2 separate regions of the Homo sapiens genome follow, and region 1 is linked to region 2. The links are contacts of gene promoters, found by promoter capture Hi-C in blood cells and fetal thymus (Javierre and others, 2016). All regions are on one chromosome and are shown on one strand. The core of a region is centred on a gene start or on the middle of the fragment in contact, and the rest is flanking DNA. Distances in the headings are between cores, read along the strand shown. Region 1 has its middle 11 kb from the start of COX4I2. Region 2 holds the start of BCL2L1 (BCL2 like 1).

Region 1 (6,683 bases), core at 768-3,267, 73 kb after region 2:
TGAGGCAGAAGAATAGCTTCAACCCAGGAGGCGGAAGTGTCAGTGAGCTGAGATTGCGCCACTGCACTCCAGCCTGGGCGACAGAGCAAGACTCCGTCTCAAACAACAACAACAACAACAACAACAACAACAACAACAACCGTAATGAGATAGGTCTCATTATGTTGCCCAGGCTAATCTCAAAATCCTGGCCTCAGGCAGTCCTCCTGCCTCAACCTCCAAAAGTGTTGGGACTACAGGTGTGAGCCACCACACCCAGCCTTCAACTTCATTTTGTGTTGGTCATTTCTCCACATCTGTAGAATATTTTATTATCTGCTCACAATTCTGCCTTCTCTCCTCATGCCTCCATGCACATCCTGGCTGTAGGATATTTATCTGTCCATCGACACTGGGCTTGACCTCGGGTGGTAGACTGTATTTTCGAAAATGATCTCAAAAATTTTCCCTCTTGGCCAGGTGCAGGGCTCATGCCTGTAATCCCAGCACTTTGGGAGGCTGAGGCGGGAGGATTCCTTGAGCCCAGGAGTTCGAGTCTGCAGTGAGCTATGATCGTTCCACTGCACTCCAGCCTGGGTGACAGAGCGAGGCTTGGTCTCAAAAAGAGAGGAATGAGATCATGTCCTTTGCAGGGACATGGATGAAGCTGGAAGCCATCATCCTCAACAAACTAACACAGGAACAGAAAACCAAACATCGCATGTTCTCACTCATAAGTGGGAGCTGAACAATGAAAACACATGGACACAGGGAGGGGAACAACATACACCAGGGCCTGTGGGGGCGAGGGGAGGGAGAGCATCAGGACAAATAGCTAATGCACGCGGGGCTTAATACCTAGGTGATGAGTTCATAGGTACAACAAACCACCGTGGCACACGTTTACCTATGTAACAAACCTGCATGTTTTGCACATGTATCCTGGAACTTAAAATAAAATTAAAAAAAAAAAAAAGAAGAAATTTCCCTTCTCCCATGCACACCACATTTTACAATGGGATCTTGATGTCCTCCTACTGGGTGGTGGACTCCATGTCCTCTCCCTCTTGAACCTGGGTGTACCTTTGGTAGTGCCTTGACCATTGGGCTCCAGCAGAAATGATGCTTTTTGTCTTCTGAAGCTGAATCATAAAAAGACCATGCAGGCCAGGCACGGTGGCTCACACTTGTAATCCCAGCACTTTGGGAGGCCAAGGCGGGCGGATCACCTGAGGTCAGGAGTTCAAGACCAGCCTGGCCAACATGGTGAAACCCCATCTCTACTAAAAATACACACAAAAAAGCCGGGCGTGGTGGTGCACGTCTCTAATCCCAGCTATTTGGGTGGCTGAGGCACAAGAATCGCTTGAACCCAGGAGGCAGAGGTTGCAGTAAGCCGAGATGGCGCCATTGCACTCCAGCCTGGGCAACAGAGCAAGACTCTGTCTCAAAAAAAAAAAAGAAAAGAAAAGAAAGAAAGACAAGGCACTTCCCCTTCGCTCTCTTGGGACCCAGCCACTGTTTTTGTTTTTGAGACCGAGTCTCGCTCTGTCTCCAGGCTGGTGTGCAGTGGTACAATCTTGGCTCACTGCAACCTCCGCCTCTCGGGTTCAAGTGATTCTCCTGCCTCAGCCTCCCGACTAGTTGGGACTACAGGCACATGCCACCACACCCAGCTAATTTTTGTATTTTAGTAGAGACAGGGTTTCACCGTGTTGGCCAGGATGGTCTCGATCTATTGACCTCATGGTCTGCCTACCTCAGCCTCCCAAAGTGCAGGGATTATAGGCATAAGCCACCTCACCCGACCTCCAGCTACCATGTTTTAAGGGAGACCAAACTAGTCCACACAGAGTGACCATGGAGGGAAGCCACAAAGTGGTGTTCCAGTTGATCTGAGGTCCAGCTGTGGTCCCAGCATCAAGTGCTACATATGTGAGTGAAAACACCTCCAGCCAATCCTAGTCACAGCCCTTGAGTGTTTCCAGCTGAGGCCCCGGATGTTCTAGAGCAGAGGCAAGGGGTTTCCACCATACCCGGCCCAAATCCCTGACTCACAGAATCTCTGAACATAGTAAAATAATTGTTTTATGCCAGTCAGTCTCAGGTAGGTTTGTAATGCAGCAATCATAATTGGAATACCTTGGCCAGTGGAATGTGGTGCAGTTTTGTGTGTGCTTGTTTTGGGCCTGGACTTTAAGAGTGTCCCCACCCATTCCTCTGCCCTGCCAAAGTCTCAGACTTCTGCCATGAGAAGAACATGCCCTAGGTGTCCACTGGTCCCAGAACAAAAAGACAAACAGAATAACCTTCAGTCCAACTTTTTTTTTCCTGAAACAGAGTCTCGCTCTATTGCCCAGGCTGGAGTGGAGTGGCACAATCTCGGTTTACTGCAACATTCACCTCTGGGTTCAATCGATTCTTGTGTCTCAGCCTCCCAAGTAGCTGGGATTACAAGCGTGCACCAACACATCCAGCTAATTTTTGTATTTTTAGTAGAGATGGGGTTTCTCCATGTTGGCCGGGCTGGTCTAGAACTCCTGGCCTCAAGTGATCTGCCCTGCTCAGCCTCCCAAATCCTGGGATTACAGCCGTGAGCCACCGTGCCTAGCCCTGAGCCCAACTATTGTGGTCTCAATTGTGTCTCCCCAAATTCATATGTGGATGTTCTAACCCCCAGCACCTCAGAATGGGACTGCATTTGGAGATAAGACCTTTTAAAAGAGGTGATTAAGCCGGACACAGTGGCTCACGCCTGTAATCCCAGCATTTTGGGAGGCCGAGGCGGGTGGATCACGAGGTCAGGAGTTCAAGACCAGCCTGGCCAACATAGTGAAACCCCATCTCTACTAAACATACAAAAAATTAGCCAGGTGTGGTGGTGAGCACCTGTAATCCCAGCTACTCAGGAGGCTGAGGCAGGAGAACTGCTTGAACGAAGGAGAACTCCTTGAACCCGGGAGGCGGAGCTTGCAGTGAGCCGAGATCGCACCACTGCACTCCAGCCTGGACGACAAGAGAGAAACTCTGTCTCATAAATAAATAAATAAATAAATAAATAAATAGCTGATTAAGTTAAAATCCACAATAAATATTTGTTGGTTGAATGACTGTTGTCACAACTGCTTTGCTAAATTCTTCCTTTGGCACCTAGGGCATCTATGGAGACGTGCTACTCAGATTCTTCAAGAGAACCTGCTATGAAGAGGGTAGTTGTGTGACCACCTCCAGCTGCCACACTTTCAGACCTGCTGTAGTGTTCATGCTGAGGCCATGATCTTTCTGGGCCGCTCCCAACCAGGGACTGAGCACAATGGAGTTACTAGGTGTGATGGTTAACACTGAGTGTCAGCTGGGTGCAGTGGCTCATGCCTGTAGTCCCGGCACTTTGGGAGGCCGAGGTGGGAGGATCACGAGGTCAGGAGATCGAGACCATCCTGCTAACACAGTGAAACCCCGTCTCTACTAAAAATACAAAAAATTAGCCAGGCTTGGTGGTGGGCGCCTGTAGTCCCAGCTACTCAGGAGGCTGAGGCAGGAGAATGGCGTGAACCCAGGAGGCAGAGGTTGCAGTGAGCCGAGATCGCGCCATTGCATTCCAGCCTGAGTGACAGAGCGAGATTCCATCTCAAAAAAAAAAAAAAAAAAAAAAAAATTGAATGTCAACTTGATTGGATTAAAGGATGCAAAGTATTGTTCCTGGGTGTGTCTTGGAGGGTGTTGCCAAAGGAGATTAATGTTTGAGTCAGTGGACTAGGAGAGGCAGACTCACCCTCAATCTGGGTAGGTACCATCTAATCAGCTGCCAGCACAGCTGGGTTAAAAGTAGACAGAGGGGCCGGGTGTGGTGGTTCATGCTTGTAATCCCAGCACTTTAGGAGGCCAACGTGGGCGGATCACCTGAGGTCAGGAGTTCAAGACCAGCCTGGCCAACATGGTGAAACCCCATCTCTATTAAAAATACAAAACTTAGCCAGGCTGGTGGCCCATGCCTGTAATCCTAGCTACTCAGAAGGCTGAGAGAGGAGAATTGCTTGAACCTAGGGGGCAGAGGTTGCAGGGAGCTGAGATCACGGCACTGCACTCCAGCCTGGGAGACAGAGAGAGACTCCGACTCAAATAAATAAATAAATAAATAATCACACATAAGAACGTGGAAGTACTAAACTGGCTGAGTCTTCTGGCCTCATCTTTCTCCCATGCTGGGTGCTTCCTGCCCTCGAACATCAGACTCCAAGTTTTTCATCAGACTTCAGCTTTTGGACTCTTAGACTTACACCAGTGATTTGCCAGGGGCTCTCAGGCCTTCAGCCAGACTAAAGGCTGCACTATCGTCCTCCTTACTTTTGAGGTTTTGGGACTCAGACTGGCTTCTCCTCAGCTTGCCGATGGCCTACTGTGGGACTTCCCGTTGTGGTCGTGTGAATAAATTCTCCTTAATGAACTCCCTTTCATAGATACATCTATCCTATTAGTTCTATCCCTCTAGAGAACCCTAATACACTAGGGATGCATTAATTTTGCCCAATACAGGACTCCTCTAGCGGGCATTACTGCTCTGGGACTTCCCACTGGCCTAGCCAAGACTTTCTGAAAGATGCTGGGCCAGTTATCAATGTATTACTGCTCAGCTCCAAATGCACTCTGCTCTGCACACTGGAGATGAACTGAACTCCTTGACAGTGAGATGCTGAGCTTTGCAAGTAGTCAGTGCTAGAAGAGACTTTCAGGAGGAGAGGAGGTTTGTGTGTGTGTGTGTGCACGCGCTGTTCTTGCTCCTGTTTTTTGGTTGCTTAGCAGTGTGGTGAGGACATTTAGTGGTGATCTGCCCCAGCCATGAGCCCAGTGTGCATAGCCTATAGCAACATTGCAGGCTTCAGGCCCGGGGACCATCTTCCAGCAATCCTCCTGATGCAGATGCCTCAAGCTTTAGGCCTCACATCTGCAAATGTGCCCCAATTCCACCCGCCCACCAGTCTCAGCTCCCTTAGCCCTCTGAGGGTTATTCCTGCTTACGCAGGGGACTATGGACCAGCTTTGGCCGTAGGCAAGCCACCCAACTTCTCGCCATCCAGTGGGCTGCAACCAACCACACCTTCTCCAGTGAGGTCTGAGCCTCACTTGGGGAGGGCACCCCCTTCCAAGTTTATCAAGTTTATCTTTCCTTGGGGACTCTCCTTGGGTACCTTTTAAAGGTCTCTGTGCCTTCTTTTTTTTTTTGAGACAGAGTTTCCCTCTTGTTGCCCAGACTGGAGTGCAATGTCGTGATCTTGGCTCACTGCAAACTTCACCTCCCGGGTTCAAGTGATTCTCCTGCCTCAGCCTCCCGAGTAGCTGGGATTAAAGGCATGCGCCACCACGCCTGGCTAATTTTGTAGTTTTAGTAAAGACGGGGTTTCTCCATGTTGGTCTGGCTGGTCTCAAACTCGCAATTTAGGTAATCCACCCGCTGCGGCCTCCCAAAGTGCTGGGATTACAGGCGTGAGCCACTGTGCTTGGCCTTTGCCTATTTATTTATTTATTTTTGAGACAAGGTCTTGCTCTGTTGCTCAGGCTAGAGTGCAGTGGCGCAATCTTGGCTTATTGCAGCCTCCGTCCCCCAGGTTCAAGCAATTCTCCTGCCTCAGCCTCCTGAGTAGCTGGGATTACAGGTGTGTGCCACTATGCCCGGCTAATTTTTGTATTTTTAGTAGAGACAGGGTTTCCATGTTGGCCAGGCTGGTCTTCAACTCCTGATCTCAGGTGATCTGCCCACCTCAGCCTCCCAAAGTGCTGAGATTACAGGCATGAGCCACCACACCCGGCCTTCGCATCTTTATGGTTACTTTCCTGTGTAAGATTAATAATTTTTTTATATTAAACAACCCGTTTAAATTGCTTTGTGGTTTCTGTCTCCTGATGGGACTCAGAATGATCCAGAGGCCCTGAAGTCTGAGGCTGTTCCTATGCAACTCTCCTTTCTTCCCTTCTTTTCTTCCACAGGTGTCAGATCTGCACCACAGTCTGAAGATTCTCCCAACCTACTCCTGCTTCCTCTCTCCTTTATCTCTCACAGGCATCACCCCCAATAAATCTCTTCACATGGTTAATTCCTTCTTGGCATTTGCTTCTCAAAGAACCCAAATGGACACAGCTTCCCATCACACTTAGAATAAAATCCCCCAGCGCTTTGAGAGGCTGAGGCAGGAGGATCACTTGAAGCCAGGAGTTCGAGACCAGCCTGGGCAACATAGTGGAGCCCTGTCTCTACCAATAAAAAAGGCCGGGCGTGGTGGCTCATGCCTGTAATCCCAGCACTCTGGGAGGTCAAGGCGGGCAGATCATGAGGTCAGGAGTTCAAGACGAGCCTGGCCAGCGTGGTGAAACCCTGTCTCTACTAAAAATAGAAAAAACTAGGCTGGGCACCATGGCTCACGCCTGTAATCCCAGCACTTTGGGAGGCCGAGGCGGGCAGATCACAAGGTCAGGAGATCAAGACCATCCTGGCTAACACGGTGAAACCCCGTCTCTACTAAAAATACAAAAAAGTAGCCGGGCGTGGTGGCAGGCGCCTGTAGTCCCAGCTACGTGGGAGGCTGAGGCAGGAGAATGGTATGAACCCGGGAGGCGGAGCTTGCAGTAAGCCAAGATCGTGCCACTGCACTCCAGCCTGGGCGACAGAGCGAGACTCCGTCTCAAAAAAAAAAAAAAAAAATACAAAAATT
Region 2 (5,940 bases), core at 3,026-5,525:
GAGGGGGTCTCACTATATTGCCTAGGCTGGTATTGAACTCCTGGGCTCAAGCATCTTTCCGCCTTGGACTCCCAAAGTGGTGGGATTACAGGTGTGAGCCACCATGGCTGGTCTGTTTCTGGGATTCTTCTTTTTTTTTTGAGGCAGAGTCTCACTCTGTTGCCCAGGCTGGAGTGTGGTGGCATGCTCTCAGCTCATTGCAAACTCTGTCTCCTGGGTTCAAGTGATTCTCCTGCCTCAGCCTCCTGAGTAGCTGGGATTACAGGCACCTGCCACCATGCCTAGCTAATTTTTGTATTTGTAGTAGAGACGGACTTTCACCATGTTGGCCAGGCTGGTCTTGAACCCCTGACCTCGTGATCCACCCGCCTTGGCCTCCCAAAGTGTTGGTACTACAGACGTGAGCCACTGTGCCCGGCCAAAGTTAGCATGTTTTTAGATAGTGTTATATAATTAAAAATAATAGCTGGACGCAATGGCTCACGCCTGTAATCCCAGCACTTTGAGAGGCCGAGGCCGGCGGATCACAAAGTCAGGAGTTCGAGACCAGCCTGACCAACATGGTGAGACAGGAGAATCACTTGAAGCCGGGAGGCACAGGTTGCAGTAAGCCGAGGTTGTGCCACTGCACTCCGGCCTTGGCGATAGAACAAGACTCTGTATCAAAAAAAAAAAAAAAAAAAAGAGGGAGGCTGAGGCCAGAGAATCGCTTGAACCCAGGAGGCAGAGGTTGCAGTGAGCCAAGATCATGCCACTGCACTCCAGCCTGGGCAACAGAGCAAGACTCCATCTCAAAAAAAAAAAAAAAAGAAAAAGAAAAAAGAAAAAAAATACAAAGTTATGTGTAGACAACATAGAGAAGTATAAAAAAGAAAACTTATTTTCTTTAGATTTAAATGTAACTTATTTTCTTTAAATTAGATTCCAGTCAAAGATCATTTGAGAGCCATTTTCAAGACTTGCAAAATTCTTTTTCCAAAATATGTATCCATCTTTCCAAAATATAAATTTCTTCATGTTCTTTCTGGTTTAAAAAAATCTTTGCTGGCTCCTCTGGTGCTATTTGATGTGCTGCTCGCATGGATACACATTTATATTCCATCCCCTCTCCACCACTCCCCTCAGCCATCCCAATTTATTTCCAGGACACCATGGGCTCTCACGCTGGGCTGCCAGGCCTTCGCTCAAGCAATATCTTCTGCTTAAAATGCTCCTACATCCTTTCTCACCCAAGCAAAATTCTATTCTTTTGAGGGCCAGTTCAGTAAAGCCCCTATCTGTGGACAGAGTTTATCTGCCCTCTGCTGGGCTCCCAAAGCACACTGAGGCTTCCATAATGATAGTTTTCACATTGAGATAATTGTGGCACCATAGGTTCAAAAATGTAAATCAGACCGGGCGCGCTGGCTCACACCTGTAATCCCAGCACTTTGGGAGGCCAAGGTGGGCGGATCACGAGGTCAGGAGTTCGAGACTAGCCTGACCAACTGGTGAAACCCCGTCTCTACTAAAAATACAAAAATTAGCCGGGCGTGGTGGCAGGTGCCTGTAATCCCAGCTACTCAGGAGGCTGAGGCAGGAGAATCACTTGAACCCAGGAGGCGAAGGCTGCAGTGAGCCGAGATCGCACCACCGCACTCCAGCTTGGGTGACAGAGCAAGACTCCATCTCGAAAAACAGCAAAAAAAATGTAAATCAGAGCCAGGTGTGGTGGCTAATGCCTGTAATTCCAGGACTTTGGGAGGCCGACATAGACAGATCACTTGAGCCCAGGAGTTTGAGACCAGCCTGGGCAACATGGGGAAACTCCATTCTCTACAAAAAATACAAAAATTAGCTGGGTGTGGAGGTGCGAGCCTGTATTCACAACTACTGGGGAGGCTGAGGTGGGAGGATCACCTGGGATGGGGAGGTCGAGGCTGCTGTGAGCTGAGATCACACCATTGCACTGCAGGCTGGGTGACATACCCTGTCTCAAAAAAAAAAAAAAAAAAAAGGCCGGGCACGGTGGCTCATGTCTGTAATCCCAGCACTTTGGGAGGCTGAGGCAGTCGGATCACCTGAGGTCAGCAGTTTGAGACCAGCCTGGCCAAAATGGTGAAACCCTGTCTCTACTAAAAATACAAAAATTAGCCGGGCGTGGTGGTGTGTACCTGTAGTCCCAGATACTAGGGAGGCTGAGGCAGGACAATCACTTGAACCTGGCGGGCAGAGTTTACAGTGAGCCAAGATAGCACCACTGCACTCCAGCCTGTGCAACAGAGCAAGACTCCATCTCGAACAAACAACAATAACAAAAAAAAAAAAAAAAATGAGGAAAGAGTTCAACAGAAAGACCACCTGAAAAAGGGGTAAACAATATGAAGAAAATTCACCAATACAAGATCCACCACCCTCCAAAGAAAGACTAAAAAATATGACAAATTGCTCAACTTCATTCATAATAAAAAAAGAAATATGAAAGTGCCTTCGGTTTTTACCCATCTAATTGGCAAGGATAAAACATTTGATAACACACTGTGTGGTTCAGGGTGTAAGGAAATTGGCGGGGCGCGGTGGCTCACGCCTGTAAACGATTCTCCTGTAAGCGAGTCTGCTGCCTCAGCCTCCCGAGTAGCTGGGATTACAGGCATGCGCCACCACGCCCAGCTAATTTTTTGTATTTTTAGTAGAGACGGGGTTTCACCACATTGGCCACGCTGGTCTTGAACTCCTAACCTCAGGTGATCCGCCCGCCTCGGCCTCCCAAAGTGCTGGGATTACGGGCGTGAGCCACCGCGCCCGGCCTGTCCTATGGAGTTTACAATTAATAACTCTCTTAATCATCACAATAGCTCAACGAGAGAGGTTGGTACTATTACCCATTTTACAATTGAGGACATTGAAGCACAGAGCAGTTGAGAAACTTGCCTAACTAGCAGAGTTAGAATCCAGACAAAGTGCTTAACCACAAGGCGATGCTTCTTCTATATATAAACTGACGGACGGATGAAATAGGCTGATTGACTGATGAGTGACTGACTGACTGACTGAATGAATAAATGGAAATGTGATTATAAATGTTGATTTTTTGCGCCTCCCGATTCCCCAGATCTACCGCGAGGGGGCGATCTCTCCCCGGTCCTGATGCCAGTCACTCAAGGCGCGCACTCCCTTTGCGTCTCGGGCTCGCGCGCGTTGCCGCGGCACCGGAAGTGACTGAGCTTGCAAGTTCCCCTGTCTCTTCAGGGGAAACTGAGGCCGGCTTGTTCGGGAGAGACGGCGCGAGCAGTCAGCCAGGTAGGCCGGCAGCCAGGTAGGCCGGCCCGGGTCCGCGGCGCGGAACTCGGCCGCGAAGAGCTCTTGCGTCTGGAAGCTACCGGGCCGATGAAGGGGGATGTGGCCCCCCACGGCTCGCGGGGCTCGCAGGTGAGAGCGCCGCCTCCCCTGTGCGTGACAGCCGTTGCGCCCAATAGGAGCCTTCGCCGTCCCGCTTCCGTGCCGGCTGGGCTCGCTGATTGGCTGCGCTGGGGCGGACCGCCGGGGGCGAGGCCCCTCCTCTCAGGAAGGTCTAGGGGGCGCCCCCGGGGGAGGGCGGTTGCCTAGCAACGGGGCGGTGGCTCGGCGGGTACCCGGCCTAGTGAGCTCGAGAAGCCGCTAGGCCGCAGCCGGCCCACCCTGGGCTCCGGAGAGGTGCAGCCCCCGGCCCCGGAGCCCTCCCGGGGGCGCCAGAAAGCCACTTTGGGCCTGTCCCCAGGAAAACGTGGTCTCAGCTGTGGGGCCGTCGAGCAGGCCTCGACCCCTCTTCCTGACCTGAGGAGAGGCCCAGCGCCTCACCCTCACCCAGTCTTTGTGCAGGGCGCCGGCGGCCATTGTGTCCGGGCGGGGAATGGAGGACCCGGCAATCCCCAACTGCCACGTTCTGGGCCTTTGGGGAATTCAGAGCAAACCAGCGGCATTTGTTGGGGGTCTCCGGCCTTCAACATCACAGACAGGCCTGGGGGTGGCCTTCCCAAAGTCAGATTGCAGATCTGAGGCAGTTTCCCCCTCCCTGCGTCCCTCACTGAAACCTTGAACCCCATTGAGAAGTCCCTTTAGGGTTTCGGACGCCTCCACCTCACCCTGGGCTGGTGCTTAAATAGAAAAAAGAAAAACAAAAACCAACTAAATCCATACCAGCCACCTCCGGGAGAGTACTCCTGGCTCCCAGTAGGAGGCGGAGAGCCAAGGGGCGTGCAAGAGAGAGGGGGCTGGGCTCCCGGGTGGCAGGAGGCCGCGGCTGCGGAGCGGCCGCCCTCGATCCGGGCGATGGAGGAGGAAGCAAGCGAGGGGGCTGGTTCCTGAGCTTCGCAATTCCTGTGTCGCCTTCTGGGCTCCCAGCCTGCCGGGTCGCATGATCCCTCCGGCCGGAGCTGGTTTTTTTGCCAGCCACCGCGAGGCCGGCTGAGTTACCGGCATCCCCGCAGCCACCTCCTCTCCCGACCTGTGATACAAAAGATCTTCCGGGGGCTGCACCTGCCTGCCTTTGCCTAAGGCGGATTTGAATGTAGGTGGTGCGGGGGAGCGGGAGTGGGGCGGGGGGGACTGCCCAGGGAGTGACTTTCCGAGGAAGGCATTTCGGAGAAGACGGGGGTAGAAAAGGCTGGTGGGAGATTCAGAGTCCACTGGTGCTTTCGATTTGACTTAAGTGAAGTATCTTGGAACCTAGACCCAGACCTTCGTAAGACCCACAAAGAAACCAGTTCTGGTACCTGGAGGGGGAATGGAATTTTTAGGGTAAATGGCATGCATATTAATTATTTTTTTTTCCTGAAGCTCTTTCTCTCCCTTCAGAATCTTATCTTGGCTTTGGATCTTAGAAGAGAATCACTAACCAGAGACGAGACTCAGTGAGTGAGCAGGTGTTTTGGACAATGGACTGGTTGAGCCCATCCCTATTATAAAAATGTCTCAGAGCAACCGGGAGCTGGTGGTTGACTTTCTCTCCTACAAGCTTTCCCAGAAAGGATACAGCTGGAGTCAGTTTAGTGATGTGGAAGAGAACAGGACTGAGGCCCCAGAAGGGACTGAATCGGAGATGGAGACCCCCAGTGCCATCAATGGCAACCCATCCTGGCACCTGGCAGACAGCCCCGCGGTGAATGGAGCCACTGGCCACAGCAGCAGTTTGGATGCCCGGGAGGTGATCCCCATGGCAGCAGTAAAGCAAGCGCTGAGGGAGGCAGGCGACGAGTTTGAACTGCGGTACCGGCGGGCATTCAGTGACCTGACATCCCAGCTCCACATCACCCCAGGGACAGCATATCAGAGCTTTGAACAGGTAGTGAATGAACTCTTCCGGGATGGGGTAAACTGGGGTCGCATTGTGGCCTTTTTCTCCTTCGGCGGGGCACTGTGCGTGGAAAGCGTAGACAAGGAGATGCAGGTATTGGTGAGTCGGATCGCAGCTTGGATGGCCACTTACCTGAATGACCACCTAGAGCCTTGGATCCAGGAGAACGGCGGCTGGGTAAGAACCAAGCCCCTTGTGTGTCCCTTTTCTTTGGCCTCTGGTCAGAGATCCCCAACAGCCCTTCTTCTGTATCTCTTTCTGTTGTGTTGGGTGATTGTTGGAGACGTTGATAGTTGAGGAAACCTGACTGGCCTCATTTCACCACAAGAGGTTAACTCCTTGGAAATACAAATGACCCTGTGCTTCAGAGATCAGGCATCTTTCACCCTGGTCACCCCCATGACTCCACTATTCCATACTTGTGTTCCAGTTTCTCAGCAAAGAAAACTGTAGCCTATGTGTTCATTAAGTCCCAAACCTGTGAGGGTAGGAAGTTAGTTCGGTGTTTCCCTTACCTTATACAATGGTTCACACACAAAGGGGTGATGAGTATAATGCCTGGAGAAGATGATGAGCATCAATGACCCACAGACCTCTCCATCTGTTCCCCCCAAGGGGTCTCAGTCCTA

What was found. The method cuts DNA at HindIII sites, captures the fragments that hold promoters and counts their contacts. A CHiCAGO score of 5 or more calls a contact.
Region 1: a contact is called between a fragment that was not itself captured here and the fragment with the promoter of BCL2L1 in region 2, in 10 of 17 cell types (M1 macrophages, total CD8 T cells, endothelial precursors and 7 more). The highest score is 7.5, in M1 macrophages.

The regions. Positions count from the first base shown.
Region 1 is chr20:31,645,420-31,652,102 of GRCh38, reverse strand. No RefSeq gene overlaps it. Among named protein-coding and RNA genes, the nearest start is that of COX4I2, 11 kb to the right of the region's middle. RefSeq lists a silencer at 3,630-3,830. The HindIII fragment of the contact is 5,783 bases long and covers 1-4,908 here.
Region 2 is chr20:31,721,203-31,727,142 of GRCh38, reverse strand. BCL2L1 (BCL2 like 1) reads left to right here and starts at 4,275. Exons shown (of 3, transcript NM_138578.3): 1 at 4,275-4,525; 2 at 4,795-5,488. The coding sequence starts at 4,925. RefSeq lists enhancers at 3,177-3,376, 3,146-3,900, 3,907-3,966, 3,901-4,656 and silencers at 3,407-3,856, 4,063-4,357, 4,257-4,366, 4,417-4,536. The HindIII fragment of the contact is 6,728 bases long and covers 1-4,974 here.